Regions from separate parts of the Homo sapiens genome. Here region 2 is linked to region 1. The links are contacts of gene promoters, found by promoter capture Hi-C in blood cells and fetal thymus (Javierre and others, 2016). All regions are on one chromosome and are shown on one strand. Each heading gives the region's core, a stretch centred on a gene start or on the middle of the fragment in contact. The rest is flanking DNA. Distances are from core to core; before and after follow the strand shown. Region 1 holds the start of SLC1A7 (solute carrier family 1 member 7). Region 2 overlaps ECHDC2 (enoyl-CoA hydratase domain containing 2).

Evidence for each region. The method cuts DNA at HindIII sites, captures the fragments that hold promoters and counts their contacts. A CHiCAGO score of 5 or more calls a contact.
Region 2: a contact is called between a fragment that was not itself captured here and the fragment with the promoter of SLC1A7 in region 1, in 1 of 17 cell types (endothelial precursors). The highest score is 5.2, in endothelial precursors.

The regions. Positions count from the first base shown.
Region 1 is chr1:53,139,411-53,146,014 of GRCh38, forward strand. It overlaps SLC1A7 (solute carrier family 1 member 7), which reads right to left and starts at 3,228. Exons shown (of 11, transcript NM_006671.6): 1 at 2,905-3,228. The coding sequence starts at 3,039. The HindIII fragment of the contact is 4,621 bases long and covers 638-5,258 here.
Region 2 is chr1:52,897,678-52,904,797 of GRCh38, forward strand. It overlaps ECHDC2 (enoyl-CoA hydratase domain containing 2), which reads right to left. Exons shown (of 10, transcript NM_001198961.2): 7 at 6,969-7,120; 8 at 1,497-1,547. Among named protein-coding and RNA genes, the nearest start is that of ECHDC2, 21 kb to the right of the region's middle. The HindIII fragment of the contact is 5,360 bases long and covers 1-4,345 here.

The DNA.
Region 1 (6,604 bases), core at 1,978-4,477:
AGCATGGCCCTCTCCCCAACACACACAGGGGTGGCCCAATACCCTCAAGTCCAGCTTCTCTGGTTCCTTGGGGCAGGCAGTGGGTGGAGATGGGTGGATGAGTCCCCCAACTGAATTGGAAGGTCCCTAGGGGTCTAACTGCTCTGGTTACAAAACTCCAAACCATGCCCAGGCTTTCAACCCCAGCCTCACCCTGCCTAGTGCAGCATCTTGCTCTGTTACGTTCTGGAGTCTGCAAGACAAACTGACTTGGTATCAACTTCCACAGACTAAGATTCCAGCTTTCTGTGAATGAGGTCATCAGCTCCACCCACCTCCATATTATCTAATTTGTTGTAGCCTCTCTATTTCTTTTTCTCAACTGTCTCCTTTTATATTCTCTTTATTCTTGGTGGTTTTACCTTTTAAAAATCCCATTACTAAAATGTTAGTGGAATTCTAGGAAGGAGGGAAAAAAATGGATACACCTGTGATTCACCATGGTTTAACTGGAAGTCTCAAAATGCTCAGTATTTTTAAATGAGACACTCATACACCAAGATAAAATCCTGTGATTTTATCAAGGATAAAAGTTCTTTTTCACAAATAGAACATTCTACCATTTTCCATATTGTTTATGATTTTTGCCTGTTGCATAAGCTTACAAAACAAGAAGTGTTTAGTTTCTGAGTCACAGGCAAAGAGATCAAACAGAGAAATCCCAGATTTCAAAGTAAGATGCTGAGAAAGCCAGTTTCTGCCAAATAATTGTTCTAAGCCTCTACATCCTTCCTTCAATTTATCTGGCAGGTTAATCCAGACTGGAATACATTTGCATTTCCAAACAGATGGGAAAGGCAGCTTTGGCAAAGTAGGCCCCAGATGAGTTTGGCTTTTAATAATAGGCATTCCAATTTGTTTTCACAAAATAATCTTCCTGCAGGAGATATATTTTTGTTGCTGAGGAAAATTAAAGAGAACAGATTGCAGATTTTTTTGTTCCATTGCCAGTTTAATGCAGCAGATAGTTGAGCGTTCTCTCTGTGCCTGACACAGGGCTAGGCTCACGTTTTGGTTAAAAAAAAAAACAAACCCATATGTTGTTCAGCAATATGCAGCTTGGTGGGAGAAAGAGACACCCATATAACCAGCTCTGAAGCCAGGCAGCCAGCAGCGGGGTTACAGTTACTTTCATCAGCTATGGATGATGAGATGGTTCCTGATGTAGATAGGACTTTAACAGGTACATAAGGGAGGGAGGGGGAAGTAACACGTAGTAAGCACCTACTGTATGCTGGGCATTGATGAATCCTTGGTTTATTCCTCATAATAATTCTAGTAGACATATACTGCCCCACATCCCATTTTACAGACAAGGAAACTGAGGCCCAGGGAGGAGAGAGGATATTGCCTAGCCATTTGCTAGCAGAGTCAAAGTTCAGGGTTTCTCTGCCTCCAGAGTCCATGCTTCTTCCTAAATAACTGCTCGAGGCTTAACAGGGTCACTATAGTCGTGGCTCAGTTCTCCAGGAGTGGGTGTTTTCCTTTTAATGGAAGACAAAGTCTAATGCCTGACCCCAGTTGTAGAGATGGCATTAGACATTAGTGAGCTGCGGGAAGAGGACTTTCTGGGAATAGGGACTCTTCCAGGAGCCCATTGACAAAGCCTCTCTCCTTGACCACACTTTAGACAGGCTCCTCTGAGCCCTCTTTTCCACTGGGCTTTGTCCTTGGGCCTTGTCTTCAGCCTGCATAGTCCAGCTGTAGCAAAAGTCCTGCCAAGTCAGTTTAGTGAGGATCCCTCACCCTCCAGCATCCTGATACTGGATCAAATTCCTCATCCCAGATCAATGTCTGATCACCCTGGCCTGCCTTCAACAAGAATCCCCCTACCCTGATGTCTCCTGTAGTCATTTTCTGTCCCCGACCCCCTCCCTCTGCTCGCTGGCTATAAATCTCCAGCCATCTTTGTTGTATTTGTGGTTGGGTCCCATCTCTCTCCCCAGGAGGTCTTGATAACTACCCCCCTACCACAATAGTCCTGAATAGAGCCTTCCTTACCAGTTTAACTAGTGGCAGAATGATTTTGTCCTTAACACCATGGGAATGTCCCTCCCTCTCCTGTAGGAGATGGGGGCTGACAGGGAAAGGGGCTCTTTCCCAGGAAACGCAGCTTCTTCATGGCAGTTACACAGGCTGGAAACCCGGGGCCTGGCTCCCCTTCCTGTCCCCCAGCCCACATCCAATCGGCCCCCACATCCTGAAGCTCCCCCTTTTGAAAACAGTTCTCACGTCTGTCCCTTTTGTCTGCACTGCCGCATCTCCCCCAGGCTGCCCCTTCTCGGCCCCCTGCCTGCCCCAGAATCACCCCCTCTCCACTCAGCACCTGAGGGGTCTCCCAAGCTCCAAACTGGCCTGTCGCTCTTCTGCCCAAAAGCATCTCATGGTTGCCGCAAGCCCACGTGTGGCGATGGGACCTATGGGCCTGCTGGCCTCTGCGCTCCGGCCGCTGCACCTGGCATCTGCTGTCACCTCTGCCTAGAGCACGCTTCCTGGATCTCTTGTCATTTGAGCAGCCTTTAGGAGGTGTTCTCTGGTGCCTGTTTGAACTCACACAAGACCCCCCTCTTTCCCCGCCACAGCTCTTGGCCCTGTGTTTGTCATCATGAGGCACCCTCGCCTCTCCTCACCTGATGGTGCTGGGTTTGTAATCACTCCCCAGCCACATCACTGGTTCTTCCCTCTAGTCCTGCAAAGTGTTTATCACACCCATGTTACAGATGAGAAAACCAGGACCCAGAGAGGCAGAGGGATTCACACACTGTCATGGCACCAGGGAGCTGTGATGCTAGAACGGGACCCCAGATCCCTCAGGCCCACACGCCCCTCCTGGACAGGGGTCCCGAGATGCTCTGGGTGGCTGACCTGTGGTGAGAGGCGCCGGGTCCTCAAGAAGAAGCCGAGGAGGCAGCCCACGATGACAGACAGCACAGACAGGATGAGGAGTCCATTCCGCCTGCACACGTCCCTCCCCCGTGCCAAGATGGCATGCGGCACCATGGTGAGCCTGGCCTGCTGGCAAGGGGCACAGCACCATTCCACGCATGAGAGCCCGGCCGGGGGCACAGGGTCTGGGCTGAGGGCTCTAGCCCCTCAGCAGGCAGGTGGTCGGAGTTGCTAAACACCAGTCGCCAGCCCCACGGCCATGCCCGTGTGGCCGCCTTAGAGGGAAGCCACAATCCTATTACCAGCTGCATCATTAGGAGCTGGGAGCAGATTAGGGCCTGGGAAATTAGAGCAGACCACGTGGTCTAGGAGTTCAGGCCTCAAAGCCAAGCGTTCCTCTTAAACAGTTGAGTGGACCAGGTACTGGAAGGAACAAGAGGAACATTTGCTTGGTTGGTTTGATCTTTACCCCTGCTTCCTTCCAGAAAGAATCAAAAACAAGACAGTAAGATATCAGTTTCCCTCAACATTAATTAAGCATTTACTATGCACCAGGTGCCATTCTAGAAGAGTGTTACATGTACTGGCATATTTAATCCTAACACCAATCCCAAGAAATAAGTACTATTAATATCACCATTTTACAGATAAAGAAACTGAGGTGGGTGGGTGCATGTGCTGCGGGCCAGGCCTGTGCTGGCTGCCTTAGCTATGCCAATCATAGGGAATTGTCCCAAAGATCCCAGGGTTCCCACCTTCATTTTTCAGAAAGGGAGGCTGAGACCCCAGAAGCCAGTCCCTTGGCCATGGTCACAGAGGTCAGAAGTCAGGGCTAGGCCAGTCTGTTTCCACCACATGAACAGGCAGATAGGTTCAAGGGTGCTTGGCAGTATTGTGGGGAATGTAGATTCGAGTCCAGGGGACCTGAGTTCAAAGGTGGGCTGTGCCACTCACCGGGAAATGGGACGTAGATGCTTCAGGGCTGTTTCAAGCCTGGTGCTGGGCACCCTGCAGGCTCTCTGGGCCTATTATTTTTTAAAGATGACAGAGCCCAAGAGACCCACATTCGGGTCCCAGCTCTGCCACTTACTAGCTGTGTGACCTCAGACAAGCATTTCATCTCACTGTGCCTCAGTTTCTCCATCTGTAAAATAGAGATGATAACAGCATCTACTTTGTTAGGGCTGGTACAAAATTCCACCCAGAGGGTATTTGGAAACGCAGTGTGAACCCTGGTGTGCTGAACAGGGGAACGGACTCTTAGGGTCATTATCACACTTAGTGCTTTGGAGAATAGGTGTCTTTTTGCTATTTCTTGTGGCCTGGCCTGCCCTGCCCTGTAAAGCCTGGGGGAATTAACCCTCGTCTATTTCACCAGAGATCTGTAATCTCATTAGGAGCAGTCAGGCAGCAGGCAGCAGGGAATGGGAAGTGCAGTCTGCAGTGAGGGTGGGAGGTAAAGGGTGGGGTGCACACAGGGGCTTCCTCCTCCTGACATAGGAGACAGGGGCAGAGGATGAAGAGGACGGGCCAAGTGGGGCATAGGGGAGAGGTGGGGAGAGGGGACTGGGGCACAGGCTCTGAAGCCATGGACAGAGCTCCTGACTGAGAAGATTCTGATCCCAATTTAATCAGCTCTGTGACCTTGCCGTCTCTGGGTATCAGTCTTGTCCTTTTTAGAATGAGAGAAATGGGCCCAGGTACCTTTGTCAAAGGAACTTCATTTCAACAAACCAATCTTCCAAAGCCCCTGCTCTTTGCAGTAGCTTGGGGTGGGGGGTGGGGGTGAATACAAGTCTGAGAGTTTTTTTTCCTCTGACTTTGACTCTTAAAACCAAAAGTTTCTTGCTACACCTTCAACTCCAACAAATGCCTCATTTTCCAAATAATCAGGTGGTTAGTTACTTCCCAGAAGAGAAAATATGCTAAGTAGGTATTTGGATTTGGGTTTTGATCAACTCCTGGGCTCAAACAATCCTCCCATCTTGGCCTCCTAACGTGTTGGGACTGCAGGCATGAGCCACCACACCCAGCCCAGACCTGGCCTTTAGCTGTGCCATGATATAGGTGAGTCTTGCTTTCTACCACAGCTCCATGACTCCCATTCCCAGGACGTGCCCTATAGCCACCACTGACTCCTCTCTCCCACAGGCTGAGCCTACCACTACCTGCCTACCAGACTACAGCCATTCTTTCCACTGTTCCTACGGTCTTCAACAGGAGAATTTCAACTCACTCTAGCAAATGTTCTTATAGCACCATTTAGTGTGCCACACCCCCTGGGTACTAGAAACACAACAGTGAATCAGACAGTACCTGCCCTGCCTTCAGGAAGCTTATAAGAAAGTGGAGAGACCCCAAGAACGGACTAATTCACACTAAAGTGTAAGTGACTGATAATGAGTTTACTAAGAATATTTGCAAATCAAATCAAGTCTCCTGGGTCAGAACCCTATAATAGTTCACCATTGACAAAGAATCAACTGCCTTTTACAATGTCACTAGATGTGCAAGACAATTTTTCCATAATTACATCAAAAGGAAGTTTGGGAAATGCTGGACGAAACAAAAAGTTAAGCACGTTATTTCCTCTGAGACAGCTCAAAGTCAGACTGCTAGAGTTAAAACCTCAGCTCTACCTTCAACCAGCTGTGTGACCTTGGGAACATTTCTTAACTTCCCTGTAAAATGGGGATAATGCAACAGTACCTAGATCATAGGGTTTTGATGTGGGTCATACAGTGCTGCATGCGCCATGGTTAGAGCGTGGCCCAGTGCCTTGCAGATAGCCCCAGGTAGTTACTATGAAAGTCTTTACAGTAGCGGCTGTGTCGGAGGAAGTCACCAAGTGGAGAATAGAGAATCCCACCCCTCCTCTGGAGCAGAGAACTCCCTGGGCCTGGTGTTTGGAGAACACGCCTGGGAAACCCCGGTCTGCAGCATCGAGTCTATGCTCCCCTGCAAGGCACTTTCACCCTTTTCCTCACCCTTTCAGCATTACCTCCTACTCCTTCCGTCACCCCTCCAGCTCCTATGACACCAAACCACTGCAGGGTCCTGGAACGCTGCATCCTGTCTCAGGCTTCTGCACCTTTGCCTGTGCTATTTCCTTGGCCTAGAATGTCCTTCCTTGTCACGAAAGTTACAGGTTAAATCCCCCTCTTCTTCGAAGCCTTCCCTGATTACCCTAGATACAATACCTTCTCTTTTTCTCACTCTAACTCAGGCCCTTCACAGTCACCAGCTGGGGATTCACCTAGCTCCCTTTTAAGTGGCTCTGACAAGGAAATAAGAATCTATGAAAATAAAATCAAATCTCTGTTTGTTACCATGTCATTTGAAATCACCTCAATGGAGAATCCTCAAAGTTGGAGGGTATATTGGCAGGGGCAGCGGGGTGCTAGGGATAGCCTGAGGAGCAAGGTGTTGTATAATGGGCAGCAGGCGGCCTCAGAGATGCTTCTGGGGAGGCTTGAGCTGGACAGACTGAGATGCTATGGCAAAGAAGAGACATGGTGTTGGCGAAAATGAACGCCAAGTCACAGGTGCAGCTGCCTCACCCTGCAGAAGCAGGTGTGCAGTTGAGCTGTTCTTCACCGGGCCCTCTGCTTGGGTTATGCTGTGGGGAGAGCAGCAGGGGTTGACTTATTTGCTAATGATTAATGATTAATGATTCGCC
Region 2 (7,120 bases), core at 416-2,915, 240 kb before region 1:
TTTTGCCAGAGAAGAGGAGTTCTCCTTCCCATCCGGCTGCCTCACCACGCTTCCTGTCACCCGTTAATTTCTGAACCTTTATGACCTGGGCCCTGGCAATTGCTCCAGCCTCTAGGGCCCACTGACTGGCACTTGAAAGCCTCATTCTAAGAGAAGTACCATGTGTGTGTGAACTTAATTTTCACAGCAAGGGTTAGTATCCCTATTCTACAGCTGAGAAACCTGAGGCATAGAAAGGTGAAATAATTTGTCAAAGTTCACAACAGTATGTGGAAGAGCAGGTCTTTGAACCCAGACAGCCTAGTGCCTCGAACTTGCACTCTCTCTTCTTCCCTCACTCTCATCTGGACGAGCTGCTTGCTTATCCTCCTCTGTGCCTTTGCCCATACTTTTCCTCTGGAATTTTTATCCTTCCCACAGTCCAACTGTAGAAAACAGTCTTTAACCGAGCACTGCCCAGTATGGTAGCCACTAGCCGCATGTGAATGTCAAGCACGTGAACTGTGATTAGCGTGAAGGAGAAACTGAACATTTTATTTTATTTATTTATTTATTTATTTTGAGACGGAGTCTCGCTCTGTCGCCCAGGCTGGAGTGCAGTGGTGCGATCTCGGCTCACTGCAAACTCCGCCTCCTGGGTTCAAGCGATTCGCCTGCCTCAGCCTCCTGAGTAGCTGGGACTACAGGTGCCTGCCACCACGCCTGGCTAATTTTTTGTATTTTTAGTAGAGACGGGGTTTCACTGTGTTAGCCAGGATGGTCTCGATCTCCTGACCTCGTGATCGCCCGCCTCAGCCTCCCAAAGTGCTGGGACTACAGGCATGAGCCACCGCGCCTGACCACATTTTACTTTTAATTTAAAAGCCACACATGGATATCATAATGGACCGCAAAGCTCTAACCTTTCTGGGGTGTCAGCGTGGTACCATTATCCTTGATTTGTGTCTGTATCTGCCCCCTCCCGGGGGCAGTGACCATGTTTAACTCATCCATCTGTATCCCAGTTCCCAGCTTTGTTCTGGATTCAGTGTGTGATGAGTGACTAGATGGGAGAGTTGAGGTGGACAGATGGATTAACTAGATGGGAGAGTTGAGGTGGACAGATGGATTAGCCACACCCAAGGCATCACCCCAAGCCCTGCCCTGAGGCCACATTACTGCCAGCACAAATCTTGCAGCATGGACTGGCAGCCACACAGACCCGGGTTCTTTCTACTCACTTCCTCTGAGACCTTGGGCAAATCATTTACCCTTTCTTAACCTCAATCTCATCCTCTCTCCAAGGGAGAAAGATGAGGATAGAATGTAAACAATAATACTGTCTGGCCAATTTGCAGATGTGTAAACTGACGTAGAGCACGAGGTCAGAGTTCAAGTCTGTTAGAAGAGTCCACTTCCTGAGTTTTTCCCAGCTGTGCTGTCTGAGCTCTGAAAGCACTGTGTCCCAGCCGCGACCAACTTTAGTGGACCCAAGTCCCAACCCAAAACCCTCTCACCTCCGTTCCTCGGTCAATGGCTACTTTGCCCAGCCGCACGGCAATGGGGGCCTAGGGAAAAGCAAAAAGTCTTGGTTGAGGAGGGCATCAAGGCTGATAGTTGCAGGTCTGAGGTGCACAGCTTTGTTTTAAAGGAGGGAGGCAGATGTCTGGGTCTGGTTCCAGCCATTCTGCTGACAGTTTCTTTAGCGTTAGTCCTATAACCTGTTAGCTGAGGTTCTTTTTCTATCATGAAAGAAGCCAGACTCTGATCCCTGAACACCTGGGTTTCTTGTTATTCAGCCCATCCTTCCAACATGCACAACATAACTAGTTTACAAAGTGCTTTCCTCCCCCACAGACTCATCTAATGGTGCTACCCACACTTCTAGGCTGGTGTCATCACTGATGACCCAGCTGTGATTTTACAGCTGTGAGATTGCAGTGCAGGGAGGTGAAGCACTTGGCTGTGTTTATCCAATCATTGGTGAGACTTGGATTGGACTCCCAACCACCTTTCCCACTTCCTCGACCTCATTTCAGCAAATGCCAGCCTCTGCGGTAAGGTTTTACCCCAGCAGAGTGAAACAAAGTCAGGGTTAGGAACTTGGGCTTTCAAGTCGACAGGGCTGTGTTGAAATCCTGGTCTGTGGGGCAGTGCAGAGGGGCGGGTGCATTTTAATACAGCCACATAGAAGCAACAGTGTCTGCTTTGTCACTGGCCTTGGTTCCACACCAGCCCTAGCACTCCAGTCTCAGCCCCACTTCCAGGCAAGGAGGAATTACTTCCTATATCATATTATTTGAAGTGTTTATAAAACTTTCTCAGGAAAAGTCTCAAAAAAAAAAAAAACTGGGAAAAAGAATTGCAATGCTTATGACAGATGAATTTCCTTGATTTACAAAAAAGTTAGTATAAAGTAACTTTTAAACCATTTACAAAAGAGTATGTAAAAGGTCCACCGGAAAAGAAGTACGAACGTGAAGGATGTCCAGCAGCTGCTACACGCTTGAAAGGCAAATCAAAACAGTGAGGTACTGTGCCCTTTCACCTCAGACCAGCAAATACTAAAATATCAATATGCCTACTACTGCCGAGACTGGGGAAACCAGTATTTACATACATTATTGATAGAAAAGTAAAAGAGTATGCCACAGGAGAGCAATTTGGCAAAAACTGGCAAAATGCTGGTGTGCCTTTATAAAACAAAACCAAACCTTTGTTTTGTTTTATAAACGAAGGTTTATAAATGTTTTGTTATATAAAATGAAGGTTTTGTTTTATATTCTTCCATGTTTGAATTCCTTACTATGCATATTTAAATTTTGTTTTTAAAATTTGTTAGAAACAGATTAGCCTCGAAAGATATTTCTTGTCCTCTAAGCCATTAAAAGGAATTTATTTAAATATGTAAGCATATGTGCATAATACACGTCCTTCCATATGCAATGGAAATTTCTGGAAGAGTATGGAAACAATAGTGATGATCTGGGGAGAGAGAGGGATTGGGAAATGAAGGGCTGTTTGGGTTTGCTTGTGACTGAAGGGTTACTGGGATATGGGACTTCCACTTTTAAAACTGGGGTAGTCACAGGTAAACCAGGACTAGCTGGTCATCTTGCCTTTGATTTTTACCTTATGCCCTTCTTACTCCTCTGTTCTTTTAGATTTGCTTGCCATATGTGTTATTATTTAGGTAACTACCCAATAAAGGAAGTAATCTTGGCCAGGTGCAGTGGCTCACGCCTGTAATCACAGGGCTTTGAGAGGCTGAGGCAGGAGGATTGCTTGCCCAAAGAGTTTGAGACCAGCCTGGGCATCATCATGAGATCCCATCTCTACAAAAAATAAAAAATTAGCTGGGCGTGGTGACTTGCACCTGTAGTCTCAGCTACTCAGTAGTCTTAGGTGGAAGGATCACTTGGGCCTGAGAGGTCAATGCTCCAGTGAGCTGTGATCATGCCACTGCACTCCAGCCTGGGCAAAAGAGCCAGACCCTGTCTCAAAAATAAATAAATAAATAAATAAATAAATAAATAAAGTAACCTTTTATTAAAGTTAAAAACGGTATGTACGTATGTTTGTGAGTGAAAACAGCCAAATTCTAGCCAAGTCAGTAGCTTGCACCTGTAGTCCCAGCTATTCAGAGGCTGAGGTGGAAGGACTGCTCAGGCCCAGGGCTTCAAGGCTGTGGTGAGCTATGATCGTGCCACTGCACTCCAGCCTGGGCAACAGAGCAAGATCCTGTCTCTAAAAAGAAAAGAAAAAAAACACAGCTGAATCCATTTCTCAAAGTGTAATGTGTATTTACTATTTAAGAAGGAAATCTGATGCAAACTGTGGATATTGACAGTTTTTTTCTGGGCTGAGAAAACTCTGGAACCATTTGCTACCCTATCAGAGTGGTTTGTCCACTAGATGGTGGCCATCTACACCATCCCTGGCCCTCTCCTATCCGGAAACCTTTATTCTGAGCACCCAGTAACATAGGTGGAAGTTGAAGTTTTGTTTTTCAGGTTGACCCAGAAGGTCTCAACTCTGGGATTACTCATGCCAGTACTTGTTTTTGGTAGACTGGTGTTTTGGTATACAAAGCTACTTTTAAGTACTGAAAATATCAGTAATTATATAGTACCAATATTTTAGTATATTTGGAAATCTGAATTATTTTGTGATTGTTATTTAGTTAAGGCAAAAAGACAAACCCTATAGTCTACAGGTCTAGATATGAAAGCTGCAATCAGCCACTCCATTGAGTGACCCAGAGTTCTGTATTAGTTCGGAGACTTTCTAACCAAGTATAATAGAAACTTGACAGCATTAATATTGTCTAGGCAATAGCATCAGACTCTTCATTTATATATGATGAAGCTTAAAAAAAAAAAAGACAAATGCTTTCAAAAAGCTATAGTCCCTCACCTCCAAATTAAAGAAGATCTGTTTTAAGAAGTATTAGGATTATTTACATTTGAGAGACAGGAAAGAAAGGATTTTTGTTCAAAATTATACTATTTTATTTTATTAACAGAATCTTGCTCTGTCACTTGGGCTGGAGTGCAGTGGTGCGATCTCGGCTCACTGCAACCTCCACCTCCCAGACTCAAGTGATTCTCGTGCCTCAGCCTCCTGAGTAGCTGTAATAAAAGGCATGAGCCACCATGCCCAGCTAAATTTTGTAATTTTAGTAAAGACAGGGTTTTGCCATGTTGGCCAGGCTGGTCTCAAACTCCTGGCATCAAGTGATCCTCCTGTCTTGACCTCCCAAAGTGCTGGGATTACAGCAATGAGCCACTGCACCCGGCTTCTTTTCTGTTTTAATACAAATGAGGTCTCACTATGTTGCCCAGCCTGGTCTAGAACCCCTGGTCTCAAGCAGTCTTCCCACCTCAGCCTCCCAAAGTGCTGGGATTACAGGCGTGAGCCACCATGCTAAGCCAAAATGGTTACTTTTATATGATTAATTCAATATATGTCAATATTAAAATGATGTATGGTTAACTTTGTTTTGTGACATTTGTAAATTTTTGTATTTGAAATACATTAAATATTTAGTTTGTTTTTAAAATTTTGTACATATTTTGCTCTCTTAAAATACCTTTTTTATATTGCATTCTGTATTGTGCAAAATAAATGCCAAAATACCGGTGTTGTTTTTTTTTCTAATACTACAATCACTCTTTGTGACCTTGATGAACAAGTCACTGAACTTTTATGGGTTTTCTCACAGATAAAATGGGGATAATCAGTTCAACTGGATTATTCTAAGAGCTGAGATACTACATTAAGGTACCTAGCATTATAGGCTAAGACAAATTTATTATAAATTAGTCTAACTTAGCTCCATTTAAGCCACTTTTAATCTTTATGGAAATTTGGGATCTCCTGTACCCAACCCCCTGTATCCTGGGCCCCCTGAGAGTTGGGAGAAGCCAGCAGACCCTCGCAGGGCCTTGGATACCCCAGACAGCCAGATCCCAGATATCCCTGCTGAGGGCTTTGGGCCCTGCAGCTGGTAGGGTTGTACCTGGGCAGGGCCTGACCTGCTCCCTACTGAGCATGGTACCCTTTGGGGTACCATGCTGAGAGGTTATTGTTTGAGGATTTTTAATTTTTTTCTTTCAATAGATTTTAGGGAACAGGTGGCTTTTGGTTACATGGATACGTTCTTTAGTGGTGATTTCTAAGATTTTGGTGCACCGTACCCAACGTGTAGTCTTTTATCCCTCACCCTTTCCCATGCTATTTGAGGATTTTTTTAATGAGGGGTTTTTTGGTTGTTTTTTTTGGCTTTTTGTTTTTGTTTGTTTGTTTTTAGCAACGGGATTTTGCTTTGTTGCCCAGGCTGGAAGTGCAGTGGCGTGACCAGCTTACTGCAGCTTTGAATTCATGGGTTCAAGCAATGCTTTTTCCCAAATAACTGGGATTACAGGCTCGAACTACCACATCTGGCTAAAACATGAGCCTGGCCCGTCACGGTGGTTCATGCTTGTAATTCTAACACTTTGGGAGGCTGAGGCGGGAGGATCACTTGAGCCCAGGAGTTTAAAACTGCAGTGAGCCATGATTGCACCACTGCACTCCAGCCTGGATGACACAGCGAGACCCTATCTCTTCAAAGAAAAAAATGCTTAATACATGTCCTGTATGTTGTATTTCTTTCTTTCTTTCTTTTTTTTTTTTTTTTGAGATGAAGTCTCGTCCTGTCGCCCAGTGGAGTGCAATGGCGCGATCTTGGCTCACTGCAACCTCCGCCTCCCAGGTTCAAGCGATTCTCCTGCCTCAGCCTCCTGAGTAGCTGGGATTACAGGTGCGTGCCTCCACACCCAGCTAATTTTTGTATTTTTAGTAGAGACGGGGTTTCACCATATTGGCCAGGGTGGTCTTGAACTCCTAACCTCGTGATACACCCGCCTCAGCCTCCCAAAGTGCTGGGATTACAGGCATGAGCCACCCTGCCCAGCCCACATGTTGTATTTCAAGAATATCCCACCAGGCAGTATGGTAGGAAATATGGGTTGGAAGTTCTGTATCTATTTTAGAATCTTGCTTTTTCAGTCTTTGGGGGATTTTAAGGCTGTGCTATATAGTATAGTAGCCACAAGCCACATGTGGCTATTAGCATTTGAAATGTGGCTAGTGTGAATGAGGAACTGCATTCATTTTCTGCAATTTAAATCATTTGGCTAGTGGCTCCCATACTGGATAAGCACAAGTATAGAACATTTATCTCATCTCAGAATGGTCTACTGGACAGTGTTACATTCAGAGGGCTTTCAAGCCCATTTGGTTCCAGCCCTTTGGAATTCAATTTACATTTTAATTCAGAATTAAAATTTGACTTGATTGTGTTTACTGGATGGTTAAACAAACTCCAAAGAGGGTTAATCATATGTCTCTGGGAGAATGGATGTGCAGCCCAAGGGGACACCCTGCCCCACACATGCCTCCCCCATGACTCCAGCCCTCCTTCTGGTGCCGAGCTGTCACCACACCTGGGGCAGGATCTCCTGGGCCAGTGCTCGTGCCCGCTGGTAGGCGGCGTCCCCCTCCTCGTTCTGGGCCACAGCGTGATTCACCAGCCCCAGTACGTGGGCCTCAGTTCCACTCAGTCGTCGGCCCGTGAAGATGAGCTCCTTCGCCAGGG